Linked DNA regions of Homo sapiens: region 1 is linked to region 2. Evidence: promoter capture Hi-C in human tissues and cell types (Jung and others, 2019). All regions are on one chromosome and are shown on one strand. The core of a region is centred on a gene start or on the middle of the fragment in contact, and the rest is flanking DNA. Distances in the headings are between cores, read along the strand shown.

What was found. Contacts are between HindIII fragments. The study calls those that stand out against the background at their distance.
Region 1: a contact is called between a fragment that was not itself captured here and the fragment with the promoter of RNF168 in region 2, in 2 of the 25 tissues and cell types used here (dorsolateral prefrontal cortex and psoas muscle).

Annotation. Positions count from the first base shown.
Region 1 is chr3:197,096,800-197,102,190 of GRCh38, reverse strand. The region is part of intron 14 of DLG1 (discs large MAGUK scaffold protein 1); the gene reads left to right. Among named protein-coding and RNA genes, the nearest start is that of MELTF, 70 kb to the right of the region's middle. The HindIII fragment of the contact is 3,098 bases long and covers 1-2,863 here.
Region 2 is chr3:196,502,253-196,508,092 of GRCh38, reverse strand. It overlaps RNF168 (ring finger protein 168), which reads left to right and starts at 4,325. Exons shown (of 6, transcript NM_152617.4): 1 at 4,325-5,220. The coding sequence starts at 4,920. SMCO1 (single-pass membrane protein with coiled-coil domains 1) reads left to right here. Exons shown (of 3, transcript NM_001077657.3): 3 at 1-1,214. The coding sequence ends at 206. It overlaps LOC105374307 (a long non-coding RNA gene), which reads right to left and starts at 2,741. Exons shown (of 3, transcript XR_924897.3): 1 at 1,882-2,741; 2 at 1,662-1,766; 3 at 1,201-1,291. RefSeq lists a silencer at 4,076-4,375 and enhancers at 4,996-5,085, 5,126-5,195, 4,847-5,530, 5,531-5,840. The HindIII fragment of the contact is 9,103 bases long and covers 1-5,668 here.

The sequences.
Region 1 (5,391 bases), core at 65-2,564, 600 kb before region 2:
AATAATCTCTACAAGACATATGAAGGAACATTATCTTCTAACTCCTTTCAGTTTTATTAATTCCAAAGGCAAGGAATAATTCACTTTGGGGGGCCTTTACTGTTAATCTTTTTGGAGAATCATTATCAGAAATTAGCTGGACGTGGTGGCTCAGGCCTCTAATCCCAGCACTTTGGAAGGCCTAGGTGGGAGGATTACTTGAGCCCAGGAGTTCGAGACCAGCCTGGGCAACATAGCAAGATCTTGTCTCTGCTAAAACTTTTTTTAAAGTTTTTTAATTAGCCATGCGTGGTAGTGCGCACCCGTAGTCCCAGCCAAGGCAGGATTGCTATGATCTCACCACTGCACTTGAGCCTGGGCGACAGAGTGAGACCCCGTCTCAAAATAAAAATAAAAATAATCGAACATGGGAACTGGAAATATAATACTATACTCGTTTTGGACTCCATATCCCAAAGTTATAAAGTTTTATCACATACTTCCTATAGTTTAAGAATCTCTTGGCCAGGCGCGGTGGCTCACGCCTGTAATCCCAGCATTTTGGGAGGCCTAGGCGGGCAGATCACGAGGTCAGGAGATAGAGACCATTCTGGCTAACACGGTGAAACCCCGTCTCTACTAAAAATACAAAACCAAAATTAGCCAGGCGTGGTGGCGGGCACCTGTAGTCCCAGCTGCTCGCGAGGCTGAGGCAGGAGAATGGCGTGAACCCGGGAGGCCGAGCTTGCAGTGAGCCGAGATCACGCCACTGCACTCCAGCCTGGGCGACAGAGCGAGACTCTGTCTCAAAAAAAAAAAAAGAATCTCCTGTGATAGTATATAATAGTAAAACTGTACGCCATGCATGATACGAACCATGTTATGTTTATTCACTCTTTTAACTCCCAAGATAATCCTGTAAGTAAGCACCGTTATCCCCGTTTTACGTTGTAGTTGAATAAGCTCTTCCATAAAGAGACCAAGTAATTTGCTAGTTACACAACTGTTAAACGGTTAAGATTTCTTCTAGCCCCTTTTAAGCGAAGAAAAACCTTTTCCTCCACCCTTGTATGTTCAGTAACGGGCCTGTGAAGTAAACTGACAAAAAAAACAGATTAACATGGAAAAAAAGTTTCTTGTATATGGATGCAAGAGGCAACAGAAGAAATACTGAAGCTAGCTTGTGGATGAAGTTAAAAGCTTGTACACCTAATCTAGTAGGGAAAGGAAGGAGGGAGAAACAGCTTTTATTAGAAAAACGTACATTTCTTCAGGAAAGACAAGTTTTTAGGAGAAGAGATGGGGGATAAAGTTTGTGATGACATTTGTCTAAACTGGTATGACTGGTCTTTCCATTCTTCGGGGCCATCAGACTCCTCAGAGGGTATTTATGGTAACTTCATTTCTCGGAAGCTGCACCTTTTAGTCAGATTAGAGAAACTCCGAGAAGGCTTTTTTCCTGCATCTGTTGAATCTCAGATATCTTCAGCTTAAAATCTTTGTGGCAACTCTGGGGTTCTGGGTGGGTCTCCATACCCTGTTCTTACTCTTTCAACTACTCATTAAACTCTTGGAATCTCTCACCTCAAATATTTAATCTTATTGTTCCTCAAGAGTATTAGGCCAACTTTCAGAGCTTATATCTCAATCTTTTGTTCAGAAAGCATTAATTATATTGTAATAATACCATAAAAGAAATAAATTGGAAAGAAACTCAATATATAAGTTAAATTTATTTTCTCTTTCCCATTGGTTAGGTCTTATATTTGTGACATATTTTATTTTCGCAAGAAAAAAACTGTTTGGTGGCATAATCCCTATTTTGCAAGTGACCAGAGTCTAGAGAGGTTAGGCCATAGTCACTTAACTTTTCTGCGCTTCAAAGCTTTGATTGAAATCTTGAGTTACAAAGGTAGATTTCTAACACCCAGTGTCCTGACTTTATTTTCATTATTACTTCTTATACCAACCAAAGGGAGAAGAGGTGGAGATAATCTGGGAAGATTGCAGTGGACTAGTGGCATTTATTTGCAGACATTTGTCATTTCTTATCATTTTCAGTAGTAGATAGGTAATTAAAATTTTTTTCAGTCTCCTGCTTTCCCACTTCCCTTGCTGTATTTTTCTACGCGCCTGTGCTGCAGTTGACCCTTGAACAACACAGGTTTGAACTGCGAGTGTCCACTTACGCACGTGCTGTTCAACCAAACTGGGATAGAAAATGCCATATGCCTGTCAGATTCCACAAGGCCTCCTGTTAGACTTGAACATGCACGGGTTTTGGTATACGTGGGGTTCTGGAACTAATCCTCCGAGTATGCCAGAGAGCTATTGTACTTAAAACAACTAACTGGCCTTCTTAAAAATAGTTTCCCTTTTTCTTTAGGCCAATTAATAGTATCCATCCTCTGAGAATTGTTTCTCTTGGGTTTAATATCTGTGTTTAATGTATTTTATTACAGTTATAAATGAATGTTTTTCTTTATAGGGATTGCATGTTAAGAAGAGATTGAGGAAGTCCAATTTCCCCCATACCCCTTCCTCACTTTTTACTTCTAGTGTGGCGGTGAAAACAAAGGTTAAAATTTGAAAGGGGATATCAAATGAAAAAATCAGCTTTTAAATATCTCTCCTTGTATAAGCGTATACATACTAACTTGTAGCCAGCAGTTCAGATACGTCCTAATACGTTTCATGACAAGAAATATGGTTTGATACAGGAATTTTTGAGATGTTGAATGGAGAAAATCTCTTATGTAAAATTATAGCTTTGCTGAGTTTTGATGTAATTCTAGGAGAGGAGTGTAAATGACTTAACTGAAAAAAGGGATGAAACTCTTCCGTCAAAATAAAAATTTAAGAAAATAGGTGTAGTGGTTAGCACTTCGGGAGGCTGAGACAAGAGGATCACTTGAGCCTAAGAGTTGAAGATCCCCTGGGTAACATAGGACACCCTGTCGCTGCAAGTAATTTTAAAAATGAGCTGGGCATAGTGATGCATGCCTGTAGGCTCAGCTACTTGAGAGGCTAAGGTAGGAAGATTGCTTGAGCCCAGGAGGTCAGAGCTACTATGAGCCATGATCGTGCCACTGCACTCCAGCCTGGATGACAGAGCAAGAGCCTGTCTCCAAAAAAACCTTAAAAACAAAACAAAAATATGTTGGTGGGAGTATTTACGAAAATATACACAGGATAGGTAAAATGTGGAGACTGATAGGACTAAAAGTATCAATTGATTGAAACAAAAGGAAAAGGTAGGAATCTTAAGTAGGTAAATGAAATAGAAGGTTTAAAGGAAAAGTAACTTTAAAATGCCGAAGTATGTTTTGAACATATAGAAAGGTAGCTGTGAGGAATTGTTAAGAGTAAGGCAAAGACTTGGCCAGGCGCAATGGCTCACGCCTGTAATCCCAGCACTTTGGGAGGCCAAAGCAGGCAAATCCCTTGAAAGCAGGAGTTCAAGACCAGCCTGGCCAACTTGATGAAACTCTGTCTCTACTAACATAAAAATTAAACAGGCATGGTGGTACATACCTGTAATTTCAGCTACTGAGGAGGCTGAGGCACAAGAATCACTTGAACCCAGGAGGCAGAAGCTGCGATGAGCCGGAATTGCACCACTGCACTCCGGCCTGAGCAACAGAGCGAGGTGGGGGCGGGTGGGAAGACTCTAAGCAAAGACTATAAATATGAAGATCTGAATACAGTGAAAGAAATAGATCACAAATTTAAGAAATTATCAGGAATTGACTTAGCTCTTCAGTATCTTAAATTTTTAATATCTGAGACTATGTTAACTGCTTTGTAGTAACTTAGTTACTCATTAAGAAAGAATATTTTTCTGCATCACTAAAAAGTAATGTGTTCTTTTTACACAGAAAGCTTTTAAATTTCTAAAATGTAGACTATCTTAAATCACTAGGACTTCTATTAATCAGATCAGCAAAATTGCTAAAAACTAATAATGCTACATGAAATGTAATACACATCTTATTTAAAAAGCATTGCAGAACTTTTAAGGAATTAGCAAACAAAACATGAAGGGAAACTAGGAACTCGGAACTCAGGGCTAAGGAAGCAGAGAAGTCTCTTTTGTTTCAAGAGCAACAGCGTACGGGCTTGGGAGAGCCAGTTAAATTTTCAGATATTTTTCAAACTAAAACATAGCCTTTATTAAAAATAAAATTATACAGAAATACAAATAAATTATATTTAAAATAGTAAAATTAAAAACAAAGGTAATATTGAAAAGTCATCACTTCCTAGTTGTTTTCTAGGAAGTAAAATAATAGAAACATAAACCAGTGAGACTAACAGAAAATACAAAAAGAGGGTTGGGCGCGGTGGCTCACGCCTATAATTCCAGCACTTTGGGAGGCTGAGGTGGGCGACTCACAAGGTCAGGAGTTTGAGACCAGCCTGGTCAACACGGTGAAACCCCTGTCTCTACTAAAAATACAAAAATTAGCTGGGCGTGGTGGTGCACGCCTGTAATCCCAGCTACTCAGGAGGCTGAGGCAGGAGAATCACTTGAACCCAGGAGGCAGAGGTTGCAGTGAGCCGAGATCGCGCCACTGCACTCCAGCCTGGATGACAGAGCGAGACTCTCTCTCAAAAAAAAAAAAAAAAAAGAAAGTACAAAAAAAGATAGTAGATTTAAAACTGAATCGCCCAAAACTCCTCCTCTCCCTCAAAAAAATTAGGAAAGCCAAACCAAAATTTGTTAAAAATCTACAATAAAACTAGACAAAAAGATGAAAGATATCCTATGAACCCCAAATATAAGCTGATGTAAACAAGGTATTAACAGCTACAAGACCATCTGATATCAGCATCTGTGCAAGGGGATGCAACAGGAGAAGCCCAATGTTAACCAGTCCTCACAAGAAAATGCAGTAGGTAAATTTGAGAACACCAAGTGAACTATAAGAGTTTTTGTACAATCTGCATGTTGAGTGCAAGGAATCTACACTAAGATATGAAGGGGCCACGAGCAGTCTGGGCCCTATGACACAGTTAACCAGCTGTAGTTCCCTTTCCATTTAAAGCCCCACACTAAGGAAGAACTGCTGGGAATAAAATCCAAATTGAGTAGGATAGGGATAATAGAGCCAAAGGAAATAGAAGGTTCAGATTAATGGGGGTAAGTAAAGTTTCAGGAAATCTCACAGTGTCTGAGGTCATGTCTTTAAACACTTGAGAGAAACAACAAAATAGAGAGTTCTAGAGCTGTGAAGTTAGAAAACCTATCTTGACTCGTAACTCCTATGTAAAAGTTGGGGAAAACTAATTTCATATTAAAATGAGCAGTAGGAAAAGATCACAGTCAAATCCATGGAAACCTATTTGAAAAGTGAAAATAAGGATTAGCGTAATGTCTCCACAGTCAAGCTGTACCAGAAAGACATATAG
Region 2 (5,840 bases), core at 3,076-5,575:
GTAACAAGGCAGAACACTATACTGCTAAAGTGAGGCAGATGTACATCAGGGATGTCACGTTCCTAATTACTAACATGGTAAAGAACCAGGCTCTGCAGGACAGTTTGCTGAGGGCTGTGCAGGTAATTGAGAAGGGGAAAGCAGTTAGGACCCCTGAAAAGCAAAAGTCATCCCTCGAAGAGTTGATACCATCTGTCAAAAACTAACCTGTTACCCTATGACCCAGTGATTCCACCTACAGTAATTTATCTTGGAAACAGCAAAAAGTATGCACAATTTATTATAGTCTTATTTTTATAGCAAAGAGTGAGAGGATGTTAAATAAATTATGACAAATTGATACAATAGATACTTTCTTTGCAGCCATATAAAAGAATGAAGAAGCTCTTTGTGTAATGATATGAAGTGATCACCAAATGTATTGTTGTTTTCAAATGTTTATTTCCAATATACATTGCTAAGTGGAAAAAAGGTGACAAATATATATATATAAATATATATATAACACATATTAGTTTACATATCCATAAACTTCTTCTGCAGAGATACACAAGACAGTGATAACATTAGTTGTCAGGAAAGAAAGCTAAGAGGCTAGGGGTCAAAGACAAGAGGAAGTCTTTTCACTGTTAATCCATTTTTTACATTTTCAATTTTGAACCATGTGAATGTATTACCTATTTAAAAAATAAACAAGGCCGGACATGGTGGCTCATGCCTATAATCCAAGCACCTTAGGAGGCCAAGGTAGGAGGATCACTTGAGCTCAGGGGTTTCAGACCAGCCTGGGCAACACAGTGATAGCAATAGGAGGCAGGTAAATTCCTAGGCAGACAGGGAGGGGTCCCTGGTGAAACTCAACCTTCAAGCCAAGGACAGTCTAAAGCCTGAAAACCAAGCTATGAGTTCTGGATAAATCCATGAGCCAGACTGAGAGCTCCCATTCTCGTCTGGCACCCTCTCTCCTGATTGGTCCTTACCCTTCACCTATTTTATACATACCTACCCTTCCGCGATTGGTCCTCTACACTATCGTGCCTATTTCTGAATGGTGCTTTGTCAAGCATAGCCACAGACCAATCAGCATGCACTTGCCCATTTCTAGCCCACAAAAACCCATAGACTCAGGCTCGTGGCCAGCAACCCACCTTCGGGTCCCCTCTCACTGCCAAGAGCCGTTCTGTCACTCAATAAATTCTACTTTGCCTTACTCACTCTCCAGTGTCCGTGTACCTCATTCTTCTCAGTCATGGGACAACAACTCAGAACTCATCAAATTCGGGAGTAAGAGCTGTAACAATAGTGAGACCTCATCTCTATTTTCATAAATTAAAACAAAAACACCTAAAATATACATCATGAGATCCTATAAATTGTATCTTAATGTGTATTTGTTCTCTAATGAAGTACCATAGTTATTTATACCAGAAAGGAGATTCTTACATCTTGACCATTTATTTATAATATTTATCGAATACCAAATGCCATGTACTAGGTACTGTGGATAACAGAAACATTAAAAATGTGGATCCTGCCCTCGAGGTAAAGATTAAGTGCCGATGCTTTATTTGGGAGGTACAAATTCAGGACAGCCAGAGTGAAGAAAGCTGGAAGGAAGTTAGGTAGAGAAGGATGTGAAGTAATACATGGTGATGTGTTACCTTGCTGTCCCCTCCTTGAAAATGAGCCACAAGAGACACAGCAGCTTTTTCAGCAGGCACACTCCCTCAGTCTTGCCTGTCTCCAGACACACTGGAGAAACCATCCTTGGAAGGAAGAAGAAAAGGGAATTTAAGTATTGTGCTCGGTCAGTCCACTGGTTTCAATTGGTGAAAGTTACTCCATGGGGAGTGACCCCCCCACCCTCCCAGCATGCATTACCGAGGCCCTAGCAGCCTCTGAGAAGTCAGCTCCTGCATTGTTCAGAAGTGGCAGGAGAAGCCAGAGATTCCGGAAATGCAACTGGTGAGCCCCAAAAAGAGCAAGTGATTATGGGTACAGAAAGCAAACAAAGTGAAGGAAATCTGAGGAAGTACATGAAATATATCCATTACACAAGACATAAGCACCTGAAGATAGAAATCAAAATACAGGAGTTCAATAGTAAAACTGCAATAAAAATCAGTATCACTGGGCAATATATGACTGGGTGAGTTTAGAAAAGGGGCATTACTGGTGGTGGGGAGTGCATTAAATTGCACATAAAAGTGCACTCTGGAAGAAGTGAATTAATTTTTTTTTTTTTCGAGACGGAGTCTTGCTCTGTCAACCCAGGCTGGAGTGCAGTGGTGCAATCTGGCCTCACTGCAACCTCTGCCTCCCGGGTTCAAGCAATTCTTCTGCCTCAGCCTCCCGACTAGCTGGGATTACAGGCACCTGCCACCATGCCCAGCTAATTTTTGTATTTTTAGTAGAGACTGAGTTTCAACATGTTGGTCAGGCTGGTCTCGAACTCCTGACCTTGTGATCCGCCCTCCTTGGCCTCCCAAAGTGCTGGGATTACAGGCATGAGCCACCGTGCCTGGCCCAACTGCATTAAATTGGTGTTTGAAGTAGGCACAGCCACAAAGCAACCCATTTAGGATGAACCGAGAAAGCAATGTCATGAAAGCAAAACGTTTGGATGACAGAGAATAAATCATAGTTGCATGTTTAAAAGAATAATGGGAGATTCGATGGGAAAAGCAGGTTGTGGACATATTAGGAAGCCTGAAGGCCAGGTGCAGTGGCTCACGCCTGTAATCCCAGCACTTTGGAAGGCCAAGGCCGGTGGATCACCTGAGGTCAGGAGTTCGAGACCAGCATGGCCAACATGGTGAAACCCCATCTCTACTAAGAATACAAAAATTTGCCAGGCGTGGTATTACAATGCACGTGGTATTACAAGGCACGCGCCTGTAATTGCAGCTACTCGGGAGGCTGAGGCATGAGAATCGCTTGAACCCAGGAGGTGGAGGTTGCAGTAAGCTGAGATCAAACCACTGCACTCCAACCTGGGCAACAGAATGAGGAGCCATCTCAAAAAAACAAACAAACGAACAAAAAACAAGCCTGAAATTCCAAGCTAAGGTACTGTTACTGTAGACAACCAGATGACAGTCCCAGGTTTCTTTTTTTTTTCTTTTTTTTGAGACAGGGTCTTGCCCTGTCACCCAGGCTGGGGTGCAGTGGTACGATCACTGTTCACTGCAGCCTTGACCTCCTGGGCTCAAGTGATCCTCCCACCTCAGCCACCAGAGTAGCTGAGAGTATAAGTGTGAGCCAGCACACCGAGTTAATTTTTTTATTTTTTGTAGAGACAGGGTCTCACTATGTTGCCCAGGCTGGACCTGAACTCCTGGGCTCCACTGATCTTCCCGCCTTGGCCTTCCAAAGTGCTGGGACTACAGGTGTGAGCTATCACAGACAATAACAGGTTTCTGAACCCACATTGAAATGAAAGTTCCCAAAGACTTCTACCAACGACCGATGTCTCCTCGTTGTTCTCAACCTGGAAACCATCCCCTACCCAGCCTGAATGCTCTCAGCAGCCTCAAAACAACTTAAAGGCTGCTTTCACGCACAGTGATTTTCTTTTCTCTTCCTTCACACTGATTGATTCCCTCAAAAAATGCAGGTCCGGAGCTGGCTATGGAGTTGCAAGCTCTAGACCCAGCTACTCCAGAGGCTGAGGCGAAAGAATCCCTGGAACCCTGGAGTTGTAGTCCAGCCTGGATAAAACAGTGAGACCCCAATTCTTTTATCTATTTATTTATTTGTATTTTTTGAGGTGGAATTTTGCTCTGTCCCCCAGGCTGGAGTGCAGTGGCACAATCTCGGCTCACTGCAGCCTCTGCCTCCCAGGTTTAGCGATTCTCCTGTCTCAGCCTCCTGAGTAGCTGGAATTGCAGGAGCTTGTCACAATGCCCAGCTAATTTTTGTATTTTTAGTAAGGACGGGGGTTTCACCATGTTGGCCAGGCTGGTCTTGAACTCCTGACCTCAGGTGATCCGCCCGCCTCGGCCTCCCGAAGTGCTGGGATTACAGGCGTGAGCCACCGCACCCGGCCTTGTTTGGCTGTTGATTTTGTTTTGAGGTTTCCCTTTTTCTACCCAGAAACCAAGAAACCAGGGGTGTCTGAGGCCTCGCAGAAATCTCAGGGAAAGGTCAGGCTCCACCCAGGCTGCACTAGGCGGGGCTGCGACGCCAGGGCGGGACCGTCTCCGGCTGGGAGGGAGGGCGGGCGGCGCGCAGACCCCGGAAGTCCCGCCCCGGGAACGTTCGCCCTTGGGCAGTTTTCTGGGTGGGAAGTGCGATTTTGGCGGGCGGTTGTGACGTTGCTAGCGCTTGTCCGGTGGCTGCTGCGCTGCCGCAACGAATAGGGTTTCTGGCTGCGTAGGAGGGACGGGGGCGCGGAGCTCTGGGAAACTGCGCCAGGCGCCCGAAAGGTGAACACGGGAGTCGCGCGTCTCCCCCGCAGCAGCGGTAAAGCGGAAGTTATGCTGCAGCCGGAGCCCGGGCTTCCTCCCGGAGCCGCGTCCCGGGGCCCGGCTGCCCCGAGCTGAGCGGAGCATCCTTTCCGGGTGAGGGGAGGAGAGGACTTGGCGCGTTCCCCTCGCTGCCCCGGGAGCCGCAGCCGCGGTGTTCATGCCGCGGAGCAGCCAGGCTCCTCCGACGAAAACCTGCATTTATTTGCTGGCGGGACGTTTGCCTTGAAAATGGACAAAGACGCCGCCCTCCGGGGTATTCCTGTTTGCCTGACCCTGAGAGCGCCTTTTTGCTTCAAGACGTGTTGGATGCTCCTGTTCTCCGAATTCTGATACGCTTCTGGGCATAATACTGAAACACAAAACTGCTTTTGCTCTCTCTGTGGTTGGCCGAAAATAGGATTCTTTTTCGTGCAGGTGTCGTTGTTTAGTCGGCTTTACTAACATATTGAAATGGCTCTACCCAAAGACGCCATCCCCTCGCTGTCCGAGTGCCAGTGCGGGATCTGCATGGAAATCCTCGTGGAGCCCGTCACCCTCCCGTGTAACCACACGCTGTGTAAACCGTGCTTCCAGTCGACCGTCGAAAAGGCGAGTTTATGCTGTCCCTTCTGTCGCCGCCGGGTATCGTCGTGGACTCGGTACCATACCCGAAGAAATTCTCTCGTCAACGTGGAACTGTGGACGATAATTCAAAAACACTATCCCAGGGAGTGCAAGCTTAGAGCGTCTGGCCAAGAATCAGAGGAAGTGGGTGAGTAAACCATGGCGTGTTTGTTGGCCAAAAGCCGCAAGTCTTTGAAAAGGTGAATCATCACTTTTCCATTTAAAAAGTAAAAACAAACCAAAAAACCCGACTAGTATTTGTCTAAATAGTTCTCAGAGGTTAGGGGGTTTATGGGTCCCCAAATGTCGATGGATTATAAAGTCAAGGGCAAGATTTTGTCCATTGTCAAAATGCCCGCGCTGTGTTCGATGGGTGTTTGTTGTGTTAAAAATTAAAGAATTGCCCGTCTGGAGCCTTCTTTTTTTTTTTTTTGAGACAGGATCTCGCTCCGTCCTCCAGGCTGGAGTGCAGTGGCGCGATCTCGGCTCCCTGCAACCTCCGCCTCCCGGTTTCAAGCGATTCTCCTGCCTCAGCCTCCCGAGTAGCTGGGGTTACACGCGTGCACCATCACGCCCGGGGAATTTTTCTGTTTTTTAGTAGAGACGGGATTTCACCATGTTGGCCAGGCTGATCTCAAACTCCTGACCTCAAGGGATCCGCCCGCCTCGGCCTGCCAAAATGCTGGGATTACAGGCTTGAGCCACCGCGCCCGGCCTCTGATTTACTTATCTATACATCTCCATTCATTTAATTCTTGATTCTCCTAA